Linked DNA regions of Homo sapiens: regions 1 and 3 are each linked to region 2. The links are contacts of gene promoters, found by promoter capture Hi-C in human tissues and cell types (Jung and others, 2019). All regions are on one chromosome and are shown on one strand. The core of a region is centred on a gene start or on the middle of the fragment in contact, and the rest is flanking DNA. Distances in the headings are between cores, read along the strand shown.

Region 1 (3,677 bases), core at 704-3,203, 130 kb after region 2:
TCGCTTTAGATAAATGCGTGTAAGAGTGAAGGCCTGTATGTCTAGTAGCTACGCCAACACCTGTGCAAGTGCAGAGAAAGGCTGCGGCCTCCCCTCTGTTACATGTTGCTTTCCCTGTGCAGACAAGAAGTGAGCCCCTTTTCCTGAGGGGGTCCTTGGGTGCCAGGGCCGGCCAAGAAGAGTGTGGGGAGGTCTCACCACCCCCTATTTGCACAGGTGACTGCCAGGCTTGGAGGGAGCCCATGGAATAGCAAAGCCCTGGAGAATGAATTCAACTGAGAAGGTGAAGGAGTGATCTTCCCCTTTTGGCATAAGGAGGGACAGGGCAGGAAAGGGGCACCTGCAGAGGACAGGTGTAGAAAAGGCTACACTACAGGGAAGGTTTCTATGAGGGTCTGAATGTCTGTATCCCCCCAAAATCCACATGGTGAAACTTAAGCCCAAATGTTATGGTATTACGAAGTAGGGCCTTTGGGAGGTGATTACTCATGAGGTCAAAGCACTAATGGAATCAGTGCCCTTTATAAGGAGGCACTTTATAAGGAGTGCCTCTTTTATAAAGAGGCCCAAGAGAACATATTCACCCCTTCCACCATGTGAGAGCACATCGAAGGTGCTCTTTATGAGAAACAGACCCTCACCAGATGCTGAAGCTTTGTGGCTCTTGATCTTGGACTTCCCAGTCTCTAGAATGGTTAGCATTACATATCTATTTTTTTTAAGTTACCCAATCTAAGGTATGTTGTTATAGCAGCCTGAAGAGACTAAGAAAGAAATTGGTACCAGTAGTGGGGATGTTGCTATAACAAATACCTAAAAATGTGAAAGCTTCTTTGGAGCTAGGTAATGGGTAGAGGCTGGAAGAGTTTGGAGGTGCATGCTAGAAAAAGCCTACATTGCTGTGAACAGAACAGCAAGGATGATTCAGGTATAGGCACAGAAGAAGAAGAGAGCCTCTGAGAAAACCTCAATCTTCCTCAAGATTGATAAGAGGTCAGAATGAGAATGTTGGTAGAAATATGGGCAGTAAAGGCCATTTTGATGCAGTTTCAGAAGGAGGAGAGGAACATGTTATTGGAAACTGGAGGAAAGGCCATCTTTGCTATGAAGTGGCAAAGAACTTGGCTGAATTGTGTTCATTCCTAGTGCTTTGTGGAAGGATGAATTTGTGAACAATGAAATAAGGTATTCAGCAGAAGAAATAACTAAGCAAAGTGTTGAGGGTGCAGCCTGGCTTCTCTTGACTGCTTATAGTAAAATGAAAGAAGAGAGAAATGAATTAAAGATGAAATTTATAATCAAAAGGGAAGAGAACCTAAAGATTTGGAAAATTTTCAGCCTGGCCACATACAGAGCAAAAAAGCATGTTTAGGAGAAAAATCAAGGGTGTAGCCAAGCGACCGCTGATAAGGAGATTGGTATGGAGAAAAGGAAGCTGGATGCTGCTCATCAAGACAGTGGAAGAGTGACCCCAGGAACTTCTGAGCTTCTCAGGGCTGCTCTGCCTGTCACAGGTCCAGAGCGCTAGGGCCTTGGGGATAGAATGATTTCAAGGCTCTGCTGCCCATGTTCCAATGCAGTGCTCCTTGGCCACCCCACCTGGGCTCAAGCCCACCTAGGCTCAAGCAGGCCCAGGTGCAGCTCAGCCCACCCCTCTGGAACTCACAAGCAGTAAACTCTGACAGTATCTATGCAGTGCCCTCTCTATAGGAGCTGTGGTGACATGGTTCCCTCCATCCAGATTTCACAGGATGGCCTGGAGAGCCCCAGCTCCCACGGAGAGAACTGACACAGAGGTGGGGCCACCTCAGAGAGTTCCCACTAGGGCAATGTCCAGTGGAGTTCTGAGGGCAGGAGTGCCCACAAGACTCCGGTACTGTAGATCCAGCAGCAGTGTGCAGCCCCAGCCTGGGAGGGCATGGACCTCCAACCAGGGAGAGCTTCAGGAGTTACCATAGACCACCACCCTCCCCGACCCCTCCATTCAACCACTGAATCTCTCAATAGCTTCCAACTCACCTCCTCTTCACCCCCATCCTCCTCCCTCTTCTGGATGACTGCAGGCCTCTTTTCCAGGCTTCTCTCCCCACTCCAGGCTCTCCACAACATTCTCCACAGTCATGCTGCTGAAAACCAACCCAACTGTGACCCAAAGACCCGAATGCCCAAGTTCTACCAAGTTCCACCAAGGGTTCCCACATTACCTTAAGGATAAGGGAGATTCGTATGGAGAGAAGGAAGCCGGATGCTACCCATGAGGACAGTGGAAGAGTGACCCCAAGGGTTATCCTCTGCATTGGCATAAAAGCCCTGCACGAGGGGCCCCTGGCTGCGACACGGCAGCACCATCCTCTGGGCACCTTGCTGAGAGCTCTGTACATGCACTGCACCTCTGCGCACAGGCTGCCCCTCGGTCTGAAAGGCTGAGCCACCCTTCCCAGTGGTTCCTAGTCCTTCAAGACTTAGTCAAGATCAGCTCCTCCAGGAAGACTTCCCAGAGCACCATCCTGCCCCTCCTTGTGAGTCTGAGCCTGGTTCCAGCACCTCCAGCCTCCATCGGAACCCCCAACCCACCAATCCTCCAGAGAGGGGCTCCCTGGGCTGGGCTGGGCACCACTCTCCCTGGACCTTGGCACTGGACATAACTTCCAGTCTGGGACACAATGGACACCCAGTAGAAAGTGTTTCTGAAACATCAATAATGGACTGACGTGGAGCAAGTCACAACGACCCCAGGACTCCACGTTTCCACCAAGTGAGGGGATATTACTCAGTGAGCTACAAGACCACTTCCAGCCCTGCTATTGCACCAACTGTCCTTGAACTAAAGCCACTGAAAACAAAGCTTGGCATAAGACGGTCTTTCTCAGATGGAACATAGCTGCTCTCATGATCTGTCATGCCACGTGACACGCCATATTCTGCAGGCTGCAATGCTGCAGCATTCGTGACCTTGGGAACCACAATTCTGACAAAACAAATTAGACACTAAGCATCTCTAGCTATCATTAAACTTCCCCAGCAGCAGGGCGATGATCGGATCAGACCTCAATTCTGCTCTCAGTTGTAATAGGAGTTTACAGCCATATGTGCCTCGTTGCCTGAGGCACAGTAAGGCTGTGTTTAACAGGGCTCACGCTAGGGAAATAATGTTCCAACGGATCATAAATAATATTGCATTTGCATCGTGCATGTTTTTCCCTGTTTCCTCTCATCATAAGAAAAGCTGTATGCATTTGGTTCATCCTTCCCCAGAACACATCCAGCCTGTGTTATCAGAAGCACACAGGGAGGAAAATCTACTTCCATCTGATGGACGCTGTTAATCTGAGCACAGCTGAGCTGTACCTGGGGCTCCAGCCAAAAGCACATGCCTCAGAAATGACGGCAAGCACACCCAGACCAGGGCGGGAATGAGGAACTTCAGATCAGCCAGGCTCCTCCTGCAACATGGCCCGTCAATTCTCCACTCTAGGGGGCTCACCTTTTCTCTCGGCCGATTCTTTGACGTTTCAGGCTACACACAGGGGAGACAGAGTGTGTGTGTGTTCATGTGTATATGTATGTGTTTATGTGTGTATACGTATGTGTTTATGTGTATATGTGTGTTTGTGTGTTTATGTGTTTGTATGGGTGTATGTGTGTATGTGTGTTTATGTGCTTATGTGTGTATGTGT
Region 2 (3,713 bases), core at 629-3,128:
GAGCACGGTGCAGCTGCCCAGGGCCAATCAGCCCTAGGGTGTCCGTGCCAGGCTGCGGCCTCCCCGCCTCCCCCGCACTGAGGGTACTCATGGCGTGCAAATGCTCCCGCACCCCCAGAGCTGCCCTATCGGATGTTTCCAGGAATTCACACATTTCCATAAAAATGCATTTTAAATGATGGACAGGCGAGCCTGGGGTAACAACGGGTGTTTGGTGGGTAGACAAGAGCAAATGGGAAGGAGCCCGAGGGAGGAGGGGGAAGAGAAGAGGAAACAGAACTTCCAGTTGGACATTCTGACAACAGCTGGAAGGAAAGTCTAGAAAAGATGAAGAGAGAGGAGGGGAGAAACCAACTGGGGCTCCCACCCTTGCCGTTGGATTCCTAATTCTCGTTTCAAATGGGCCCTGCTCTCCGGCAAAATTAGTTTAAAGGATTTTAAAACAAAGAAAACGAGATGACCGGTCTGGGAGCTCCTCAATCAGAGTAGAGAAGTTAGAGGGGGGCGGGCGACTTGGTTTTGAAGTCTTAGCTGAACAGTCACCCCTCCTCTCCTTGGCAAAAAGGATTCCTTTAGAACCTCCGAGGCTCCTGGATTTCTCCCTTCGCAAATGGAGCCGCATACTGCATTCCCCCGCTCTTTCGGATCGCTAAGCATGTTTCATGAGGGTCGCTGTCCCCGGGTGGAATGCGGCCGTATGCACGCGCCTCCCTGCACACGCACACACACGCACACTTACAATAAGTGTCTGCAGGAGGAGTGTCCTGCGCGCCAGCTCTGCGTTTAAGACAGGAAGCTGCCGGGTTACCGAGTCAAATGGGAGTGACACTATTCCTCTCCATCAGCAAGGAAAGCGGACCACAAAAGTCCCTTTGTATCTCGGCAGCTCATTTAATATTATTTATGCATTTTGTGCAAGGAATTGTGGGATTTCGCCCCACGGTAAACAATATGGAAATCTTAAAAATAGCGATCTTCCTGTGCGTGTCCACCTACGCGCCCCGGGGTGACCTGGCGGGGCTGTCGCCGGGTGACTCACACCCCTGAACCGCGAAGCGACAGGGAAAGCGCGGGCGAGCGCAGGAGACGCGGTCGGGGGTCTCTCCGGGTTCCTGGGCTCCCGCACCCGGAGCGGGGGACGCGGCCGCTTTAAGGGGAGGAGGGGCGGCGGGCTGCTCCTGTCACCCAGCGGCGGCCGGAGCGTCACGTGGGCGCGCGGCGCCGCGGCCATTGGCCCGAGGCACGTGTCCAGGAGACCGGCCTGCGACGTCACTCGAGGGGGCTCTGTTAAAAATAAGAACAAAAATCCAGAGTGAAAGTGTCTCAGGTTGCGCCGAGTGGCCTGGAAATTTCCGAGCCCGCGCGGAGGCCGAGGCGGCGAGGGCGGCGGACGGCCGGGGAGCGCGGGCGGCCCAGCCCGGCCCGGCCGGGCCCTGGCCTCGCGTCTCTCACCCATGCGACTCGGGCCGCGGAGCTCTGCGGGGCTCGGCGGGGGCGCGGCCGCACGCCGGTGGGGCGCCCCGGCCCGCAGCGGGGCGGCGGCCGCGAGGAGGGGGCCTCCATGTGCGTGCGGGCGGTGGCGGGCGCGCTGACCGCGGGCGCCCGGCACCCTCGAGGGCCGGCTAGGGCGTGCGGGCGGGGACGGCCGGGCGGCGGCGGCGGCCGGAGCCGGCCCGGGCGGGCGTGAGCGCCGGGGAACGCGCTGCCTGCATGCGCGCAGCTCTCGCCCCGGGCGGCCCAGGCGGCGGCGCCGGAGCCCGAGGCGGCCGGACGCGGAGAGGAGCGGGGAGCCCGGGAGGCGGCCCGCGTCCCCGCCGGACCACTGCGACTGTCTAGACCCCGGCTGCGCGGCGAAGTCGAGGACTTGGCTCTGTTGAATCTCTCATCGTCTGGGCGAGCGGGGCGGCTCGTGGTGTTTCTAACCCAGTTCGTGGATTCAAAGGTGGCTCCGCGCCGAGCGCGGCCGGCGACTTGTAGGACCTCAGCCCTGGCCGCGGCCGCCGCGCACGCCCTCGGAAGACTCGGCGGGGTGGGGGCGCGGGGGTCTCCGTGTGCGCCGCGGGAGGGCCGAAGGCTGATTTGGAAGGGCGTCCCCGGAGAACCAGTGTGGGATTTACTGTGAACAGCATGGAGGAGAATGACCCCAAGCCTGGCGAAGCAGCGGCGGCGGTGGAGGGACAGCGGCAGCCGGAATCCAGCCCCGGCGGCGGCTCGGGCGGCGGCGGCGGTAGCAGCCCGGGCGAAGCGGACACCGGGCGCCGGCGGGCTCTGATGCTGCCCGCGGTCCTGCAGGCGCCCGGCAACCACCAGCACCCGCACCGCATCACCAACTTCTTCATCGACAACATCCTGCGGCCCGAGTTCGGCCGGCGAAAGGACGCGGGGACCTGCTGTGCGGGCGCGGGAGGAGGAAGGGGCGGCGGAGCCGGCGGCGAAGGCGGCGCGAGCGGTGCGGAGGGAGGCGGCGGCGCGGGCGGCTCGGAGCAGCTCTTGGGCTCGGGCTCCCGAGAGCCCCGGCAGAACCCGCCATGTGCGCCCGGCGCGGGCGGGCCGCTCCCAGCCGCCGGCAGCGACTCTCCGGGTGACGGGGAAGGCGGCTCCAAGACGCTCTCGCTGCACGGTGGCGCCAAGAAAGGCGGCGACCCCGGCGGCCCCCTGGACGGGTCGCTCAAGGCCCGCGGCTTGGGCGGCGGCGACCTGTCGGTGAGCTCGGACTCGGACAGCTCGCAAGCCGGCGCCAACCTGGGCGCGCAGCCCATGCTCTGGCCGGCGTGGGTCTACTGTACGCGCTACTCGGACCGGCCTTCTTCAGGTGAGCCCGCGGGGACCACGCGTCCCGGCTCGCCGCGGGGAGGCCCGCGGAGCTGGGGGGCGGTGCTGGCGCGGGAACTTACCGGGAGGAAAACATCTCGAACCTCCCCCGCGCACACGCACAAAGACTCACGCGACATTGTGTGAAGCTGACGCCGGCCCGGGCAGCGGCCAGGAGTCCAGCGGCAGGACTGATTCGCTAGGGGGTACAGACTTCTTAGGACCGCAGAAGGGACCTTCTTTCTTTCTCTGTCTCTCTCTCTCCTTCCTCTCTCCCTGTCTCCCCTCTCTGTCTTCCACCCCGCCTTGGCGCATCTCTTCCCAGCCCCTAGCCCATGTCTCCCCCACTGTAGTTTTTTTTGGTGGGAACGTGGTGGCTGGAAGATGGGCCCGGAAGTGCACACTCTCATCCCCTTCCCTACGATCTTCCAACTCAGGCCAGGCCGGGGACGCATGCCCCAGCCCACCCCAGACTTGTCCTACCATCCGGTTATCCCGGCTGTGCTCGGGGAAGAAAAGGCGAGGCCCTTTGCCGCTCTGCCTTCTGCCCCTCGGGCCTGCGCTGACCGGTGGGACTCAGGAGGATGCACACAGGGAAGGAGGAAAATAAAGGCGCCCTTTCCCCTTGGCTCCACTTTGTTTGCCAGCGCCAGCCCGCAGTGGTGGGGCTCAGCCCCCTTCCTGCACACAGCGAGGACAAGGGAGGCAGCCGTCCCTCCCGGCACCTGCCATCCCCAAATAGAAAGGACCTTCTCTCAGGGTTTCCTGGGGGCTGCTGATGGGAAAGAGGCAGCATTCGCAGGGGCCCTGCAGAGATGCTGGATATATTTTTTCATAGATCTGCGATTTTAAAAAACTAAGTCCATGTCCTTGTAGAAATCATCAACTGCATTCCATGCGGG
Region 3 (4,112 bases), core at 1,155-3,654, 81 kb after region 2:
GTCCTCTAGATGGTTGAGAGATGAGACCCACGTGTCTCAGAAGAGCAGGTCCTTGGCCAATGAGAGTTATGGAAAGAAGAGAGAGTAGCAGCAGAGATAAAGGGGGAAGCTACCTCCCTTCCAGCCTCTCCTTCCGAGGACTCTTAAAGCACCAAAGGACACATGCATGGAGCAAAAATAGAGGATTGCATCGGTTCCTGAGGCTGCTCCAGGGCCAGTGACACCACCAGGAATGAAGCTGGACAATTCAAGGAAGGGCCACATCACAGCTTTCTGTGGAATTTTTTTTCTTTTCTTTTTTTTTTTTTTTTGAGACGGAGTTTCGCTTTTGTCGTCCAGGCTGGGGTGCAATGGTGCGATCTCAGCTCACTGCAACCTCCGCCTCCTGGATTCAAGTGATTCTCCTGCCTCAGCCTCCTGAGTAGCTGGGGCTACAGGAATGTGCCATCACACCCCGCTAATTTTTTGTATTTTTAGTAGAGATGGGGTTTCACCGTGTTGCCCAGGCTGGTCTCAAACTCCTGACCTCAGGTGATCCACCCGTCTTGGCCTCCCAAAGTGCCGGGATTACAAGCATGAGTCACTGCGTCCAGCCTCTGTTGAATATTTTATACGAAACAAAATCACGTGTCTGTGTATAGTGTTCCATCTTCTTAAGAACAATGCTACTTTTTAGAATAGGAATTTCTACATTATCATGGAATTCTTTTGATTTCTAAAAAAAAACCTTCAAAACTTTATGTTTTAAATTTAACAAGTAATATGTTTATTATAGAAAAAATTTTAACAGATAAACAAAAAAAGAAAGAAAGGAGCTCAGCAGTAATACGCAGATACAAGAACTGTGACTATTGTCTCAGTGTATTTCCTGAGGCTCCCTCCTGCAGTGAACAGACACAGACACGTAAGAGGGCATCTGTATGTGCGGGTTAATAACCTCTTTTTTGCACTTAATAATAGGAAAATACCCTTCGGATTTTTTCACATGGCAATTTACAGGTTCCTGTGAACATCATTTTCTTGCACCATCATCTTTCTCAATTGTTGCTGAAGTAATTTTCTTATTAAGGTGGCATCCATGGGCCAACAGCCCTTGCAAAACAATTTAGGGGTGATCCCTGAAACTCCTGGTTGCTAAGTGTGGCCTCCAGCCCTGCAGTCCATCTGCACACCATCCCTTCCTCTTGTGCTTGCAAGAAAATGCAAGTAAGTACTAGGGACTGTTGCCACCAACCTCATTTTCAGACACTGGGGACCCTGCAGGCTGGTCTCACTGTCTCCTGGGCTCTCCGCCTTCACCCGCGTGTGACCCTGAACTGTGGCAGATCTGGGGACCATCCACCAAAGAGCCCTCCCACCCCCCTCCTGCTAACCCCAGACTCTGCCCCTCCTCACGTGCCCAGGACAGGCCACGCCCCCACAAGGCCCTGAGCTTGGGTCTGGATTGATCTGAGGGACGTCTGCGAATGCCCCACTTGCCCCGCAGTTGGTCTAGCCACAGGCGTTAGAGGCCCTCCTGACCCATGAGATATGAGGGGGAGTTCTGGGGGCTGGGGGTGGGAGATCCTGGACAAATGTCCTCCTTGTTAAAAAAGAGACCCCATGCAAAGCTGTTCACTTTTCTGCTCTGAGCACCGCCATGGGCTGACTCGCGCCCCCTCCTATTCACCTCCTGCCCACCCCACTCAACTCACCCTTCACTCTCTGAGACGTGGCGTTCACACTGGCGGCTGCTGAGGTCTCTGGGTCAGAGTGTGAGCTCCTATGGGGGAAGAATTCCTCCCCTAGTCCACACCACATGTAGACCCGGAATGCTGATCCAAAGGAGACCAGTGCCAGGGCACATCAGCAGGAATCTGAGCCCCAAGGCTGCTGCCACCAGGGGCCAGGAGCCAGCTTCGGGCCCCTTTCTTTGTCGCTCCCCACCCCACCCTGCCCAGCTGCGGTCCCTTGGTCCATAGAAAGCGTAGGCCGCTAAGCCAAAGCTGTCACTGCTGTAATATGAGGATTCAGAGGAGATGTTCTGATTTTCTTTCTGCAGAAGGAGTCAGGAATTGTTGTGGCATTGTTTGGGTATTAATAATCTTCCTAAATCAAATATCTTTAGGCTACCGTATCATGCTGAGGACAGCCATCTGCTATAGTGGCTTCCAATTTTTTGGACATGACCCACTTCTTACACCAAAACCCATTATATAAAGTGTCACAAAACATACTTTCCTTTTCTATAAGATGTACTCTGATATTTAATATATATTTCTACATTCTTGTATGCCACTACACGGATTTCATGGCCCTCTAGCGAGTAGGAAAATTGCTGATGGACTGAATCCCCCTGCACCTCCTGGCTGGCCTGATAGAATAGCCAGCCCTCTCATTTTGTCCATGTACAGTTGTGCAGGTTGCACACTGCACAGCTCCAGGATGTTATAGTGCCCTGTTGTTTCATAGTACATAATGGGATGGGGTAGCTCTGTCAATAGTGTGGGAGCAGAGGGAAAGCTTCCCTTCTGCTCCCTGTGAAGGCTTGCTGAAATGACTGAAAAACAGATTAACGGGGGGAAAAAAGCAGACAAACATTCATGTGTGTTAGCATGGGAGCCATATGAAATATGAGACTCCAACAAGGGCAAGATGGTTGAGACTTAAATACCCTTTTCATGGAGGAGAGGGAAGTGGGGGCCCGTGGGCCATTTTAGGGGAGAGTCAGTGATTCTTAGGAGAAAGGAATGGACGCAGGAGGCAGACATTATCTTGTCAACGATTCTCTTAGGAAACTGAATAGGACCAGCAAGTTATGGGAAGGTGAGGGGTAGAACTGCACCGTGAACACAGATTTTCTTCTTATGTGACAAAGCCTCCAGGGTCATCACTTTGAGCTGCCCTCAGAAGAACAGATGAAAAGTCTGGGGGTGGGGGTGACCTTTAGGCTTTTCTCTCCTCTGGTGGCTAAATCTTTCCTGGTTATTTGATCAGATTCCTCGGGAAGAGATCTTAAGACAATTGTATTTCTTTTGGAAAGAAGTTTCCTAAGTCGGATAAGGAAATTCCAGGGAGAGGCTCTCTGCACTTGGGGGCTGGAGGAGGAAACAAGGTTAGAAAGTCCAGAATTCTGAGACAGCTTCGAAGGACTTCCAATGTCCTTTAATTCAAGTGCTCGGCTTTGCCAAAGCACCGTGCACTGGGGTCTCGTTCTCCTCATCTTAGCGCTAGCAAATGGTATTGGAATTTTTCTAAATTAACTTATCAGCAAATTAAATTAATACTAATTTGTCAAAATTAAGTGAGTCACTAAAGCTTTCTGGGCCTCATCTGCATTTCTAAAATGAAGCTAATTACAGTGGCCCAGTTTACCTCCCAGAGTTGTGTTTTAAAGCTTAAAGAAGCATGAGGTGTTGGTGCAAACCGGATATTGGCCTCGTCCTCACTGTTGCTGTTGGTGCTTTCTGTTTGAACTTTCCAAGTTTCGCAGAGAGCGAGGCCTTGCTCTCACACTCAGCCGAGGCAGAGGACGCCCCTGAGCTCTGCTTCATCATTTACAATTCCCTCGGTGAACACACGTTTCCTGGGTCCCTGTGGGTAACACACGGCTTGCCCTGGTCATCCTGTATCCAGTGACTGGAGCTCGGAGGTTCAAAATCTAAAAGCAAATGTGAGCCCCTCGACTCCAGCTCCCTGACCCTGGGTGCCCCGCTGAGAGCAGCAGTGCATGCGTACCCTCATTCGGGAGGCCAGCCTTTCATCACTGGGAGAGGAGACAGGTAAGCAAATGTGAAGTAACTGCCTCCAAATTGTCTTGTGCTGTGTTGCCCTGTTTTAGGAAAGGTGCCATTAATCCAATTTGTTTAAAAAATAAATAAATAATAGGGAAATAACCGCAGTGCTGAGATGCTGGCTGCATTTTGCTGAACAGACGAGGCTTTGTGCCAGTGTGAGGAGCTACCGAGTGAAGACATCCCACCTACGGTGGCAGCAGGGGTGGTCTCCCACCTGTCCCCAACAGCCCCAGGCCAAGGAGGCAGCTCTCTGAACTCTGGACTTTAGTGAGTGCTCCCCCGCTGAGCCTCCCCGTTCCCGCTGTTCTGAAGACAGAGACCTCCGCGAGCGGAGCA

The links. Contacts are between HindIII fragments. The study calls those that stand out against the background at their distance.
Region 1: a fragment that was not itself captured here is called in contact with the fragment with the promoter of EN2 in region 2 in 2 of the 25 tissues and cell types used here (H1 embryonic stem cells and spleen).
Region 3: a contact is called between a fragment that was not itself captured here and the fragment with the promoter of EN2 in region 2, in 8 of the 25 tissues and cell types used here (H1 embryonic stem cells, heart left ventricle, liver and 5 more).

Annotation. Positions count from the first base shown.
Region 1 is chr7:155,582,033-155,585,709 of GRCh38, forward strand. No RefSeq gene overlaps it. Among named protein-coding and RNA genes, the nearest start is that of CNPY1, 37 kb to the left of the region's middle. The HindIII fragment of the contact is 4,336 bases long and covers 1-3,677 here.
Region 2 is chr7:155,456,251-155,459,963 of GRCh38, forward strand. EN2 (engrailed homeobox 2) reads left to right here and starts at 1,879. Exons shown (of 2, transcript NM_001427.4): 1 at 1,879-2,812. The coding sequence starts at 2,128. EN2-DT (EN2 divergent transcript) reads right to left here and starts at 868. Exons shown (of 3, transcript NR_186580.1): 1 at 740-868. RefSeq lists an enhancer at 541-1,532. The HindIII fragment of the contact is 19,554 bases long and covers 1-3,713 here.
Region 3 is chr7:155,537,130-155,541,241 of GRCh38, forward strand. The region is part of intron 2 of CNPY1 (canopy FGF signaling regulator 1); the gene reads right to left. Among named protein-coding and RNA genes, the nearest start is that of CNPY1, 7.4 kb to the right of the region's middle. The HindIII fragment of the contact is 3,908 bases long and covers 451-4,112 here.